3 separate regions of the Homo sapiens genome follow, and regions 1 and 3 are each linked to region 2. The links are contacts of gene promoters, found by promoter capture Hi-C in human tissues and cell types (Jung and others, 2019). All regions are on one chromosome and are shown on one strand. Each heading gives the region's core, a stretch centred on a gene start or on the middle of the fragment in contact. The rest is flanking DNA. Distances are from core to core; before and after follow the strand shown. Region 1 overlaps CTNNA2 (catenin alpha 2). Region 2 holds the start of LRRTM1 (leucine rich repeat transmembrane neuronal 1). Region 3 overlaps CTNNA2 (catenin alpha 2).

What was found. Contacts are between HindIII fragments. The study calls those that stand out against the background at their distance.
Region 1: a contact is called between a fragment that was not itself captured here and the fragment with the promoter of LRRTM1 in region 2, in 3 of the 25 tissues and cell types used here (mesendoderm cells, spleen and thymus).
Region 3: a fragment that was not itself captured here is called in contact with the fragment with the promoter of LRRTM1 in region 2 in 2 of the 25 tissues and cell types used here (heart right ventricle and ovary).

Annotation. Positions count from the first base shown.
Region 1 is chr2:80,375,134-80,379,465 of GRCh38, forward strand. All of the region lies in intron 7 of CTNNA2 (catenin alpha 2), which reads left to right. Among named protein-coding and RNA genes, the nearest start is that of LRRTM1, 73 kb to the left of the region's middle. The HindIII fragment of the contact is 4,258 bases long and covers 260-4,332 here.
Region 2 is chr2:80,302,168-80,306,802 of GRCh38, forward strand. It overlaps LRRTM1 (leucine rich repeat transmembrane neuronal 1), which reads right to left and starts at 2,585. Exons shown (of 2, transcript NM_178839.5): 1 at 1,985-2,585; 2 at 1-1,711. The coding sequence starts at 1,652. The coding sequence ends at 84. All of the region lies in intron 7 of CTNNA2 (catenin alpha 2), which reads left to right. RefSeq lists an enhancer at 1,402-2,027. The HindIII fragment of the contact is 15,461 bases long and covers 1-4,635 here.
Region 3 is chr2:80,235,965-80,240,252 of GRCh38, forward strand. All of the region lies in intron 7 of CTNNA2 (catenin alpha 2), which reads left to right. Among named protein-coding and RNA genes, the nearest start is that of LRRTM1, 67 kb to the right of the region's middle. The HindIII fragment of the contact is 4,617 bases long and covers 108-4,288 here.

The DNA.
Region 1 (4,332 bases), core at 1,139-3,638, 73 kb after region 2:
TTTAATGTTTATTAGGTTGGAAGTTCTTTCTTTGTTTTCCATTTAACAGGCTTTGGTTAATCACAGGAGAACGGACACAAGGGAGAAGAGAGGGTTGGGATAGCCTCGGGAAAGGCACAGGAGGTCCTCTGGAGGGAAAAGGGCCTCCCCAGGAGGTAGGGATTTCTATGGAGCTCTCAGGATGAGGAAGAGAGGGGGAAGGGAGGTATACAGTTTGGTTCTTATAAACCTGGCTTTGTGTTTGTTTACATGTAGGTTGTGGGGATAGGGGTGGATTGCCAGGAAACTTTGAGCTTGGCACCAGTCTGGCTTCTGTACAGGTAATGAAAAGACTTGAACCCATAACATGGTGACCCACCCTCAAGTCAGACTTATAGCTGGTTTTACTCAGGACTTTTTACTACCTTTTGATTCCTGGTTTCTGGCTTCTTTTTTTTTTTTTTTTTTTTGAGATGGAGTCTCACTCTGTTGCCCAGGCTGGAGTGCAGTGGCGTGATCTCAGCTCACTGCAAGCTCCGCCTCCCAGGTTCATGCCATTCTCCTGCCTCAGCCTCCCAAGTAGCTGGGACTACAGGCGCCCGCCACAATGCCCAGCTAATTTTTGTATTTTTAGTAGAAACAGGGTTTTACTGTGTTAGCCAGGATGGTCTCGATCTCCTGACCTCATGATTCACCCGCCTCGGCCTCCCAAAGTGCTGGGATTACAGGCATGAGCCACCATGCCTGGCCTTCAAGTCAGACTTATAGCTGGTTTTACTCAGGACTTTTTACTCACTTTTGATTCCTGGTTTCTGGCTTCCCTTTCTGACTTCCTCTAAGTACCTCCTATTTTGGTAGTAGAAATGGGATCTCTGGCCAGTTTTATTCCCTTGGTAGTTCCTGCTTTGGATCCACCACAGCACACAGAAGCTCCAGGATAAGGTCTGAAGGTCTGAGTCACTCTTTGCCTTAAACTATAAAAATGAATCTTTTTTTTGCCCCTCCCACATCTCTACCATTATTTGATTTTTTTTCCCCTCAGTTTTTTGTTTAGAGTCATACATATGTCTAATTCCTAAATCCTAAATTCCTAATGAACTGATTTCCTATGGGACCAGAGTTTGTTTTATTTAACTCTTTAAGTTTTCTTCTCCCACCCTTCACACAGAGGTTTCCATCTTGCCTTTCTATTCTATCTGTTTAGGGAACAGCTGTCTATTTTCTAGAATGACAACCATTTTAGGTCACACCTTCATTAAGAAACTTTTGCCAGCTACTGGACTTAGTAGACATGCCAGCAAACTAGAGAGATGAAGTTCCTAATTGAGGTTTATAGGCTAATGGTAGAAACAGGAAAAAAAAAAAAAAACGGTAAGTAAATTGTCTATGTAACATCCTTCTTAGTTTTATTAGTGTTTTAGCAGGGAACTTCTGGAGTCATTACAAATGAGTTACAATAAAGAATTGTACATTAAAGAATGATAGATAGATCTCTAGACTTTGCATCATGGTGGAGAGGACATTTAGAAAAGAATGTTTTTCTTGCTGTTCAGACCCAGCTCTGGAGGCTGCTACCTTCTGAGGTGTGTATAAGTGATTAGCAATTCCCTTCGAGGACTCCCCATCAGTGTGGGGCAGACATGGAAAGCCTGCTGCATCTGGCTTTCTAATTTCTGCAAGGCCATCCCTTCCTTGATATGCCAAGTGAGGGTGACTGAAATAGAATCCACTCTTGATGCTTGGGGGATCTCCCTCTTTCTGGCAGTTACAGGTGCTCAGTTTGATTACAATCATCAGTGAGGTGTGTTCATTACTGATTTCATTACCCATGCAGAGGACTGAAAAGGAGGAATCAGTCCCCAGCATTTGCTCCCCATCTTTCCCCAGTAGAAGCTACCACGGTTGTCAGAGCTTGAATTCCTCATGACTGGACTATAGAAGTGAAATATCAGGGTCAATGTCTGGTTCTCCTTTTTCATTTGCCTCATATATGAGTATGTCATGAATGGATTTTAACTTGGTGAAAATTTCACAAGTGTTAAATATTACTCAGATGCTCAAAGATTTCCAAATGGCAAGTCTTGGTAAATCCAGATCCAGCCTATAAAACAATTTATTCTCCCTAGACATTCAATCCATCTGTCTTCCATTTATCCATAGTTCAGATTCTTGGCACTGTGCCTTTCCTTAGGAAGCTTACTATCACAAGAGGAAAAGATCAGGGTAAGGAATTTGCTTATTGGATACCATTTTCATGCTAGACTCAGAGATAGACATGTTGTATGCATTTTCTTATTTTTACCATAATCTTGGGTTAGGCATTATTTTCACTATTCTGCAGATGAGAACTGAGATTCAGTGAGTTTAGGAAAATTGCCCAGCCTCACACAGCTGAGCAGCTGAGATGTAATGTAAGTCTGTGTCTACTTCGAAAGCTCTTGGAAGGAAAGGAAGGCATGTGGGAGAGCATGAAGGTTGAGGAGGTAGGAAGACTGGAAATTGCATTTGCATTGTGATTTTACATAAGAAGGTAAAATGAGATAACATTGATTTATTTATCAAAGCATCCGTCTTTCCCCACCCTAAGTCTTAGTGTCATAAGCCTTCTAGGAGACTAAGATGAACCTTGGAGCTAGCACTATGGCTTTCCATGGCGACACATGGCCGGATAGGTAGCTCTGGATGCAAATAAGCAGGTTGGTATGAGATTCTGGAAGAACTAAGATTTTGGAATTTATCTTCCTCGGTCATCTATGGTCCCATCTCTCATCTGTGGCCAGAGGAAACTTGGCCTTAACATTCTTTGACTCCCAAGTCTAATGTCACTACAAGACTTTATTGAGTACAAGGGAAACTCCTTTTGGGGGCATTGTGCCTGACACTGGGAGATGTGGTCTCTCCCTGACATAGTTTAAACTCTATCTACTGGGAGAGTACCTGCTTACAAATAGCAGAGAAGGGGGCCAGGCGCAGGTGGCTCAAGCCTGTAATCCCAGCACTTTGGTAGGCCGAGGTGGGCGAATCACGAGGTCAGGAGTTTGAGACCAGCCTGCCCAACATGGTGAAACCCCGTCTCTGCACTAAACATGCAAAAAATTAGCCGGGCATGGTGGCGCGCCTTTAATCCCAGCTACTTGGGAGGCTGAGGCAGGAGAATCACTTGAACGCAGGAGACGGAGCTTGCAGTGAGCAGAGATTGCGCCATTGTACTCCAGCCTGGGCAACAAGAGCAAAACTCTGTCTCAAAAAATAAATAAATAAATAAATAAATAAATAAATAAATAAATAAATAAATAACAGAGAAGACATAATGTCACATGAACTTGCAGTATACACACACACACACACACACACACACATTCATTCATATGCACACATTCAAATGCAAGGCATGATCACAACATTTTTATTTTACTCTGCTGTGTTGTATATATGATTAACAAATGCATCATCAGCAGTTTAGGAGTTATTGTCAACCTACTCCAATAGTTTCCTATAATCAGTGTTAAAAATCCAGTTTTCCATAGGGCCGATGACATAATTAGAAGCAACAATAGTTCATTCCCCTCAGCTTATTCTGAGTGAACAGAGAAGCTTCAAGCACCCACCTTTAGCCCTACTCTTGCCTTTTTCATCAGGGCTTGGAAGACAGGGAGTAGCTACAGCCAGGTATCTGACTATGAGGGATGCGGGGTGAGACCACTTGGTGCCAGCTTTCCCCAAGAAGGCTATTCAGGGCTTTCTTTGTCTGCCCGACATCAGAAAGCACTGATCTGTCGTGGTATCGGGAAGAGAGTTCTGTGTAGGCTCTGGGGTCAGGGAGAGGCAGGGTTTTATCTTGGCTGTAGAGGATGCTTCAGGATGGGGAAGAGGGCAGAAGTGGGATTTAGGAGATTATTATGGGGTGCTCAGAGAAACTCTTCTTCTTGAGGGCTGGGGCATAATTACAAGGGAACGGAAAGGTTGGGATCATAGAAAGAGGAACTTGGGAGTGAATTTTCTTAAAATATTAGGAAATCAGCATAGTGTAGACAGGTTTACAAGCAGAAGCTCTGAAATATTGCCTGTATCAGGATCCTGGTTTTTTGTTTTACTTTTGTAAACTTGCAAAAGTTTCTTAAGCTCTTTATGCCTTAGTAAGATCAGCAGTCACTTTTATCTCTTTGTCCATCGTCTCAGCTAACCTTATTTGATGTCTACAGGTGGATATGACAATAACAGTCAAAGAATTTGGGAAGCTGGTATAGCTTTTTCTTTCTTTGTGCAGGGACTTTTTTTGAAATGTTGTTACAGGGTATGCCTAGCCTGTATTGTTTTAGTGTGTCAGAAAGTGTGGCTTTTCTCTTCTAATTA
Region 2 (4,635 bases), core at 1,335-3,834:
GAGACCCCAGCCTGGTGCCCGCCGGCCCGTCCCGGCTGCCCAGGCGTATTTGGTAGCGCATGGGTTGAGAGCCACTGGGACAATCACACCTCGCATTCCCTCGCGGGCTGCTGGTGGCAGGTACACGAGCCATACTCGTTGATGATCACCAGGGCTCCCTCAATGTGGTTCGGTTTGTAATCAACGTAGTATTCCTGGGCAGACATGGCAGCCATCTGATGCATGGTCTGTTTCTGCTTTTGCTTCCTGCGCTGCGTGACAAAGCACTGTCTGAGCTGCCTGAGGCTGGCTGGGAAACACTTCCAGGACACGTAGAGCACCAGGACCACGATGAGGAAGGAGAAGATGAGGGCCATGGTGCCCGTGACCACCTTGTGGATCTGCACGGCGTTCTCGGCGTGCTCGCCGCCTGGAAGAGCCACGGTGGCAGGCTCGAATGTGCCGTCGTGCTGCCCCTCCCCGCCGTCCGCGAGCGTGGTGGCCGAGCTGGCAGGGGGCCCCAGATCACTGCGGTTGGTGACGGCCGAGAGCAGGTGGCCGCTGGTGGGCTCGGCCCCATCCTCGCACAGGTGGAAGGCGTACACGGCGTCCAGGACGTCCTCGCCCTGTGCGTACTCCGGGCTGGCGCACTGCAAGTTGCCATCGTAGCGCCCCTGGAAGTTGTTGAGCCACGAGGCTAGGGCACACACGTTGCGCCCGCAATCCCACAGGTTCCCGGCCAGGGTGATGCTTGTCAGGGACTTCCAAGAGTTGAGGATCCGGGGCTCGATGTAGGTGAGGCGGTTGGAGTCCAGCTGCAGGGACTGCAGGTGCGGCACGGTCTCGAACACATGGGGCTCCATGTACTCGATCTCGTTGCCCGACAAGTCCATTTTCTCCAGGTTCCAAACCCAGTCCAGCGAGCTGACCACAATGGCCACCTTGTTCCTCCGCAGGCAGAGCGAGTGCAGGGAGATGAGGCGCGGGAAGTGGGCGAAGTTCACCTTGACCAAGTCGTTGTGCTCGAGGTGCAGCTCGGTGAGCTTAAACAAGCCGGCGAAAGAGTTGCGCGCCAGACTCTTGAGCTGATTGTATCCGATGTCGAGAAACTTGAGGCTGCGGCAGTCCTGGAAGATGCGCACGGGCACAAACTGGATGGCGTTGGCCCGCATATGCAGCGTGGTGAGCTTCCGCAGCCCGTGGAAGAGGTCGGGCGCGAGCGCCTGCAGCTTGTTGTACGAGAGGTCCACGCTGCGCAGGTTGGGCATGGGCCGGAAGGTGGTGTTGGGCAGTTGGGTGATCTGGTTGGAACTCAGCGTGAGTTCCTTAACTCGGCGCAGTTTCTGAAAGGCGTCCCCCTGCACGGAGCAGATGTGATTGTGATCCAGATAGAGCCACGTGAGCTGCATTAACCCCGTGAACTGGCCGGCGCGCAGCTCCGAGAGGCTGTTGTAGCGCAGGGACAAGCCCAGCAGGCCGGACAGGTTGTGGGGCGCCTCGGTGAGGTTGAGCGCCTCGCAGTACAGCAGCCGCCCCTCGCACCGGCACAGCTGCGGGCACCCGCTGGGGGCGGCGGGCAGCATCTGAAAGCAGGCCCCCAGCAGACACAAGACCACCCCCGAGGGCCTCCTCAGCAGCCAGTATAGACAGAGACCGAGCAGCAGGAAATCCATTAGCGAGAATCTTTCCAGAGAGACTGGAGAATGTCCATTGGAAGCGCTCGGTCAGAAATCTACATCATATTTTATTCCGAGGGAGGGGAAGCGGGGGAGGGGGAGAAAAGGGCAAAAAATCAAATAAATACATAGAAATAAAGAAGGACCCCCCTCCCCAAAAACCACACGTTCACCTCTAAGCATGCAGAAAGCTGGGCAGCATAGAAAGTTCACAGCCACGGAAAGATCAAAGAGATGGTGATTTGGTCCATGTTAGATGCTGCAGCAAAGAAAAGGGAGGAAAAAAAAAATCTTCGGGAAAGAATTTAATTAAAAAGTGTCTTACCCACCCTTTTCCAGAGAGTGACAACCTCCATTCAGCTGCTCCCTTTGTGTGCAGGCTAATTATATGCAGGGCGAGAGAAGACCCCTCTGTGTTTCCGAGGCAGCCCCGGTCCGCGGCCGGCGGATCTGGCAGGCGCACAATGTCTCACTTTGCTGCTCGGCTCGGGGCTGCAAGGGCGGCCGGCAAGGCGGGGAGGCGACTTCTAGGACCCGCAAGTTTCCCAACTACGTGCCGGAGCCCGAGCTTCGCCTTCCTGCCGCCTTCCTTTCCCTCTGCAGTTCGGACTGTGACGTTGTGGGGGGAAAAAACTCCAAACTCGGGGCTCGCGACTCCCCAGGATCTGACAGTCTGGTTAATGTCCGTCATTGGAAACGACCACTGACCGGCGCCACCTTTTACTCCGCGGAAACAGCCTGCCATTCGCGCCCCGGGCAGCTGCAGAGAGCGGGCTCACTCATGCTTTGCGGGCGGCGGGCGGCGGGCGGCGGGCGGTGGGGAGGTGCGGACGGCGGCGCGGGGAGCGGCGAGCGGCGCCCGGGCTCCTTCCCTCCACCAGGCAGTGTGCGGCGCGAGCTTGCACAGGCACCTACTGCTCACTGAGTGTCGTAAGCTGCTCACGATTGTGCGTCTTCCCCGAGCACCTCAGACATGGGCAGATTGAAAAGGGGTGGGCATAAAACCAACATTTTACCGAACCACTAAAGTAATATATGTTTTTTGATGAAACGGAAAACACTTTCAGCTTTTTTGTCCATATTTCAAAAAAAAAAAAAAAAAAAAAAAGGAGGGGGGAGGGAGGTGGAGGTAGGGGTAGCATCATCCACGACAAGATATTTCCAAGTGGGAAACTGAAATGTTCTGTGCTCTCCCCCTTGCCTTTTGGGGATATATTCTTTTCCCCTTTAAAACTGTCTACGTGTAAGAGATACGTAGGAATCTGTAGAGAAATCAACGTTTGGACCTTTGCTTTAGAAAAGCAACTTGAGAGAAGACACAGGAAGGCAATGATTTGGGGCTTGGCTAAGATTTTTGGGGTTTTTTCCCCCTCTTGCGGGTACTGGAATTCTGCAGTCAGCCAGCCCTTTTTTGAGGTGGAGAGGGGAAATGCTTTCCAAACCCACCTAGTTTGGGAAGCCATCCAAGTCCCGGTGGTGTGAGATCCAGTGTGGCAAAAAGGTATGTCTGTGTGCAGGGAGACTTGACTGAGATCCCTCCGGGGCTTCATCAGGCTCCACAGATACATATGGGGTACAGAGTGGATTAAAGAACGATTGTACTGTCTGACATGGGGAGGGCTTACCCTGACTTGTGCTGTTCATGGTGATTACTGGGCCCTGCAGTGCACCCCACTCCAAGAGAGTGTGAATGTGTAGGGACGTGATAGTTTAAGCCATAATGAAGCCTACCCGTCTCCATACACACATCCTAATTAATCTTTGAGACTGCACTAAGTTGTGCCACTTTTTCCTCTGAGTATGACGAGAAGCCTTTGCCTCATTATTTCTATTCATAATCATTTATAGATAGGAGTCCTTACAATGAGCTCTCCCCCCACCTCCCCACACACACACCTTGTGCCTACTGGTCTGTAGAGGGTCTGCCCTGGGGAGGGTCAGTTGGTCATCTGTTTAAACAAAGTCCTCCAAGATGGCTGAGAAAGCCTGCGGGAAGTGAGTGTGGGCAAGCCTTCCTTCTTGACAAAGATGCCCAGGGAGATGGTAGGGAGAGTCAAATGTGAGTCTCCAGCTCCACTGTTTGAATTCCCATCGTTTCTGCCTCTAAGGAAGTCAAAATCAGTAGGCATTATATGTAGTGGCACTTACTTTGATAGGAATGAGGGTGGATTACCAGAGCCAGGGTAGATAGACTGGACAAGTAACTGGATTGGTCCTTAGCATCTAAGCTGAAGAGGCCAACCAATGGAATCAAAGTCACCAAAGACTGGTGGTACTTTTCAGGAAAAGTCATATGAACAGGGGCATGAATCATTCCATTTTGTATTCATCTGAGCTCTGCCCTGGTCATTCATCTCTGAGATGTATCATTTAATTGGAAGGAACACAAATCTGAAATGTCCTAGACATCACATGCTGTCTTAGGAGTTAGAAGAGACATTAGAAAATCAACCCCCTTAATTTTGCACGTGACTAAACTGAGGCCAAGAGACATCATGGTTTATCCAAGGTCATACAGCTTGCAACTGGCACAGATGGTTTTTTCTTTCTTTCTTTCTTTTCTTTTCTTTTCTTTTCTTTTCTTTCTTTCTTTCTTTCTTTCTTTCTTTCTTTCTTTCTTTCTTTCTTTCTCTCTCTCTCTTTCTTTCTTTCTTAATTTGCCATTCTTGATGATTGCCTCTCTGTCACTCTTGCTGCCTACCTAACTCTGGATCAGGCATTTGCATGTTTCATCCTGGCACCTCCAAGGTGCTGCGGAACACTTTAACAGACAGACAAACAAATTCACCATCAAGTGGTTTCACCTCTTGCCAAGACAATTATTCGTGACAGCAGGCCAGCTGATGGAGCCATAAACTCTAAAGGGTTGGGAGGTGGGGGAGGGGTGTTGAGGAGGCACCCGCAGGGTTAAACAGCGGCCAGCCATTCAGCGAGTACTGTGAGTACACACCACCCAATCCCTAGGGTTGCTAGGAAAAAA
Region 3 (4,288 bases), core at 1,166-3,665, 66 kb before region 2:
CTCCACCCTCCAGTAGACCCCAATGTCTGTTGTTTCCTTCTTTGTGTTCATGAGTTCTTATCATTTAGCTCCCACTTATAAGTGAGAACATGCAGTATTTGGTTTTCTGTTCCTGCATTAGTTTGCTAGGGATAATGGCCTCCAGCTCTATCCATGTTCTCTCAAAAGACATGATCTTGTTCTTTTTTATGGCTGTGTAGTATTCCATGGTTTATATGTACCACATTTTCTTTATCTGGTCTGTCACTGATGGGCATATAGGTTGATTCCATGTCTGTGCTATTGTGAATAGTACTTCACTGAACATTTGTGTGCAAGTGTCTTTATGGTAGAGTGATTTGTATTCCTCTGAGTATATACCCATTAATGGGATTGCTCGTTCGGATGATGGCAATCCCACTTTCTGTATCTTGCACTGAAGTTCTCAAGAGAGTTGACGTTATTGGTCAAATCAGTGCAGTGCAGTGAGGGAGATGGGTGGTCTCTTCCAAAGAGTCATACTGTTACTTAGCCTTTTTTCCATCTTGTGCCTTCTCATTACTTAGTGCCTTGTAGTCCTCCCTATCCTGCTTGCAAATGAAGACTCAGGCAGCAGTCTGTCACAAGGGATACTGGGAAATGTAATCTACTAGTGTGTGCAGGAGGAAAGGAAAATGGATTCAGTGAACAACTAGTCAGTCTAAAAATACAGTAAAGTAGGCCTATAGATTATTGTCTGTTTGCACAAGTGAACTTGAACTTGCTTTTATTTATCTGTCAAGGAGCCTTATGTCTGTGAAATCACTAGGATAAGTGAAATAGTTTTCCTGGGCTCATTCCCAAAAAGGAAAACATTGTGGCTAATCAGACACAGAGAATCCACAATGGTGGTAGGCTTCTCCTCACTATTAAATGTGAGATGGCACCAATTTATAGGCTCCATGGACTTTTTCACTACAAAAGAGAAGGAAGCTTTTTCAAACCTCTGTTTTAAGAGGGAAAGCAAAGAGAAGGAAGCTTTTTCAAACCTCTGTTTTAAGAGAGAAAGCAGTAACATATTGAAAGAAATGCACAGTTTTCATTTGTGTCATCTCAACAGCTGGTACTACCCTGAAATTTCAAGGATCCCTTCCCATTGTCAGTCCATGTAACCTCATCCTTAGATCAGAAAACACAGCCACAAAGACATGAGTTCAGAATAAGTGTCTTACAAGTCATACAAGAGAAGGAATATTCTATATGATTGAGTCAAGCATATGGAGACACTGGTCCCAGCCCTGCTAATATCCAATGTGGTTACCTTGGATATGTTACTAAATGTCTGCATTTTTGCTAAAAAATTGAATAATGTGTTTGTTCAAAATACATACAGTACCCAAATTACAATGGTTCAATGCATGATATTTTGACTTTAGGATGGGTTTATCAGGGTATTAAATGTATTTTCAATGTAGAATATTTTCAACTTACGATGGGTGTATTAGGATGTGTCTCATTGTAAGTTGAGGAGCATCTATACATAGGTGTAAGGAAACCTAAAGACTGACTGTTGTGTTTTCTCAGTGGTGGTTCTTGGCAATAGTAGTAGGAGAGGTACTCTTGTTCCTTTTTTGTTACCATTGTTAACTCCAAAATGTGCCAGGCCTTCACAGTGGAAGGGGCTAGTGAGACTGGATGCCAGAGGAAGCACCTGTGGAACAGACACCTGCATAGCCCTACCCTGGGCAACAAGACTTTAAATACCTCCTCCAACTACAAGGTTCTAAGGATCTGCATTGATGTTTCATAGGCATGAGTTCTTAAAATTCTGTCCTGAATATGAAACTCAGGATTGGGAAATGAAGCAAGAAAATGAAAGGATTTGCTTTATGAAGACTCTATATCCTGGGCAAAGTGGTGGTGGGTTGAGTTGGTCTTCAACCTGCCCTTCATTGAAGGGCTGCCTGGACCCTCTCCTAAGGTGCTCATTCTGGATACCCAGTTGGTGACAACTCTTCTTGGTCCAGCACCTTCTCTAAGTTGACACTTCTTTTTCTTGCTCCCCCTAGCCACTCCCCTGACGTGTCTCTTAAAGCTACATTTAGGTATCTGTGCCGTCCAAGGACAAGCTTTAAGGAATGAGCATACCTCATCTAGAGGAAGGAACTGGTAAGACTCCCTCCCCTGGCTCCAGCACTGTTCTGGACTGTAATAGTGCATTCTCACAAGGAGAATCCAGAAATAAAAGTCCATTTATGACTCTGTGACCTCAAGGAATGACTTTACTCAAGATCATTTGAGGCTCCAGGGCAAGGGGAATGGCGGCATGGCAGGCAAGGAGGGGCTGACAGCACGTTGTGCAGTCGAGTTCATGTAGCCACTTCCTGCACAGAAAGACTTCCACTCTGCAGTTGTAAAGAGCTGGCCTTGACAGGGAGTTGCTGGTTCCCCAGGAGTTAATTGATATAAGAAATAACATTACAAGGAATTAATTAGAAGCCCTTGAGTCTTGACAAGAGTTTGTTACAGGCTGATGTGCCTTTTTATTATGAAGCTGGGAAAGGGAATGAGGAGGAGAAGTACGGAGGATGTTAACCATGCAGATGTGAAAGAGATTTTGTAGACAGCCTGCAGAGAGGCCCCTGCATAATGATAGCTCACTCAGAGAAAATAAGAACATGAAACAGTTCCTGACAAGTCCCATAGCTTAACTGGAAGAAAGTGAACCTCTTTGCTTATGAAACATCCTGAAGCTAGCGTAAAAGTTAAAGAGCACTTTGCTCTGAAAGAGAAATAGAGGGATGGAATGGGGGAAGGGACATAGTCATTAGGGTAAGTAAAGTAAAACTGGCTTCCCCACAGGACATCAACACGGTAGAAACATCCGGAATTGTCTCTAAGTCTCACTCCTGGGAATTCACGCCACAGGGATAAATCAGATCAATTACTACCGGCCACCTAGTGGCAGAATGGGGAACAACATGCTGATCTGTCGGCTGGGAGGCTTAATATAGTCCGTATTCACAATAGAAGCTAATTGTTATAAAAATGTTAAGAGGGGGCGTAAAATATTTCAGAGCAGGGGAAGATTTTTAGCCTGAAGACAACATAATTTTTCACTTAAACAATTCATCCAGCTCAGGATTAGATGAAGTTGAGTATGAGGATAATTGAATATAGTAACCAATTCTACGTCTTCCATCCATGTGTGTATTTAAAGATTACAATTATTATGCTATTTTTAAGACGTCTGTTCTAGATAAAGTTCTTCCATGAGATACTACTTTTGATGTACTCTGAAGAGTGCTCTCATGCTGGGAGAATTTCAGTGCTGAAAATAGCTTTTGGCCTAGAGTTGAGACCTGGGTAACCACCCCCAGCTTAGCTATGCGAAACTTGGGTGATTGTCAGAAAGTCATTTACGTATCATGTGGGGATGTTTGTGTATGTGTGTGGGGAGTGTGTTTGTGATTGTATGTAGTGTGTGGGCATATGTATAAATATATTTGTTAAGTTGAAGCAAATACAATAGCCCCCCTCTTATCCACGGGGAATACGTTCCAAGCCCCGCAGTGGAGGTCTAATAGTACACTGTTTTTTTTCTATACACTATTTTTTTCTATACATACCTATGACAAAGTTTAATTTATAAATCGGGTACAGTAAAAGATGAACAACAATAACTAATAATAAAATAGAATAGTTATGGCCTGGCGTGGTGGCTCACATCTGTAATCCCAGCACTTTGGGAGGCTGAGGTGGGTGGATCACCTGAGGTCAGGAGTTCGAGACCAGCCTGGCCAACATGGTGAAACCCCGTCTTTACTAAAAATACAAAAATTAGCCAGGCGTGATGGCATGTGCCTGTAATTCCAGCTACTCGGGAGGCTGAGGCAGGAGAATCGTTTGAACCTGGGAGGCAGAAGTTGCAGTGAGCCGAGATCGCTCCATTGCACTCCAGCCTGGGCAACAAGAGCAAGACTCCATCTCAAAAAAAAAAACAAAAAACAAAACAAAACAAAACAAAGTCATAACAATATACTGTAATAAAAGCTGTGTGAATGTTTATTTCTGAAATTTTCCATTTCATGTCATTGAACCATGGTTGCCCACAGTTAGCTGAAACTCTGGAAAGTGAAAGCGTGCATAAGTGGGGACTACCATATGGGCATCCTACATACCTCTTAGGTGGTACTCAGAGAACCCAGCAATGAGTATTGAACACCCTCAGTGAGCTGAGTTCTGGTTCATCCCAATGGAAGGTATTAGAGAAGGATGAACAAAGTCCCTGTCCAATCTAAGTGGTGACTCTAAGACACACATGAAATAA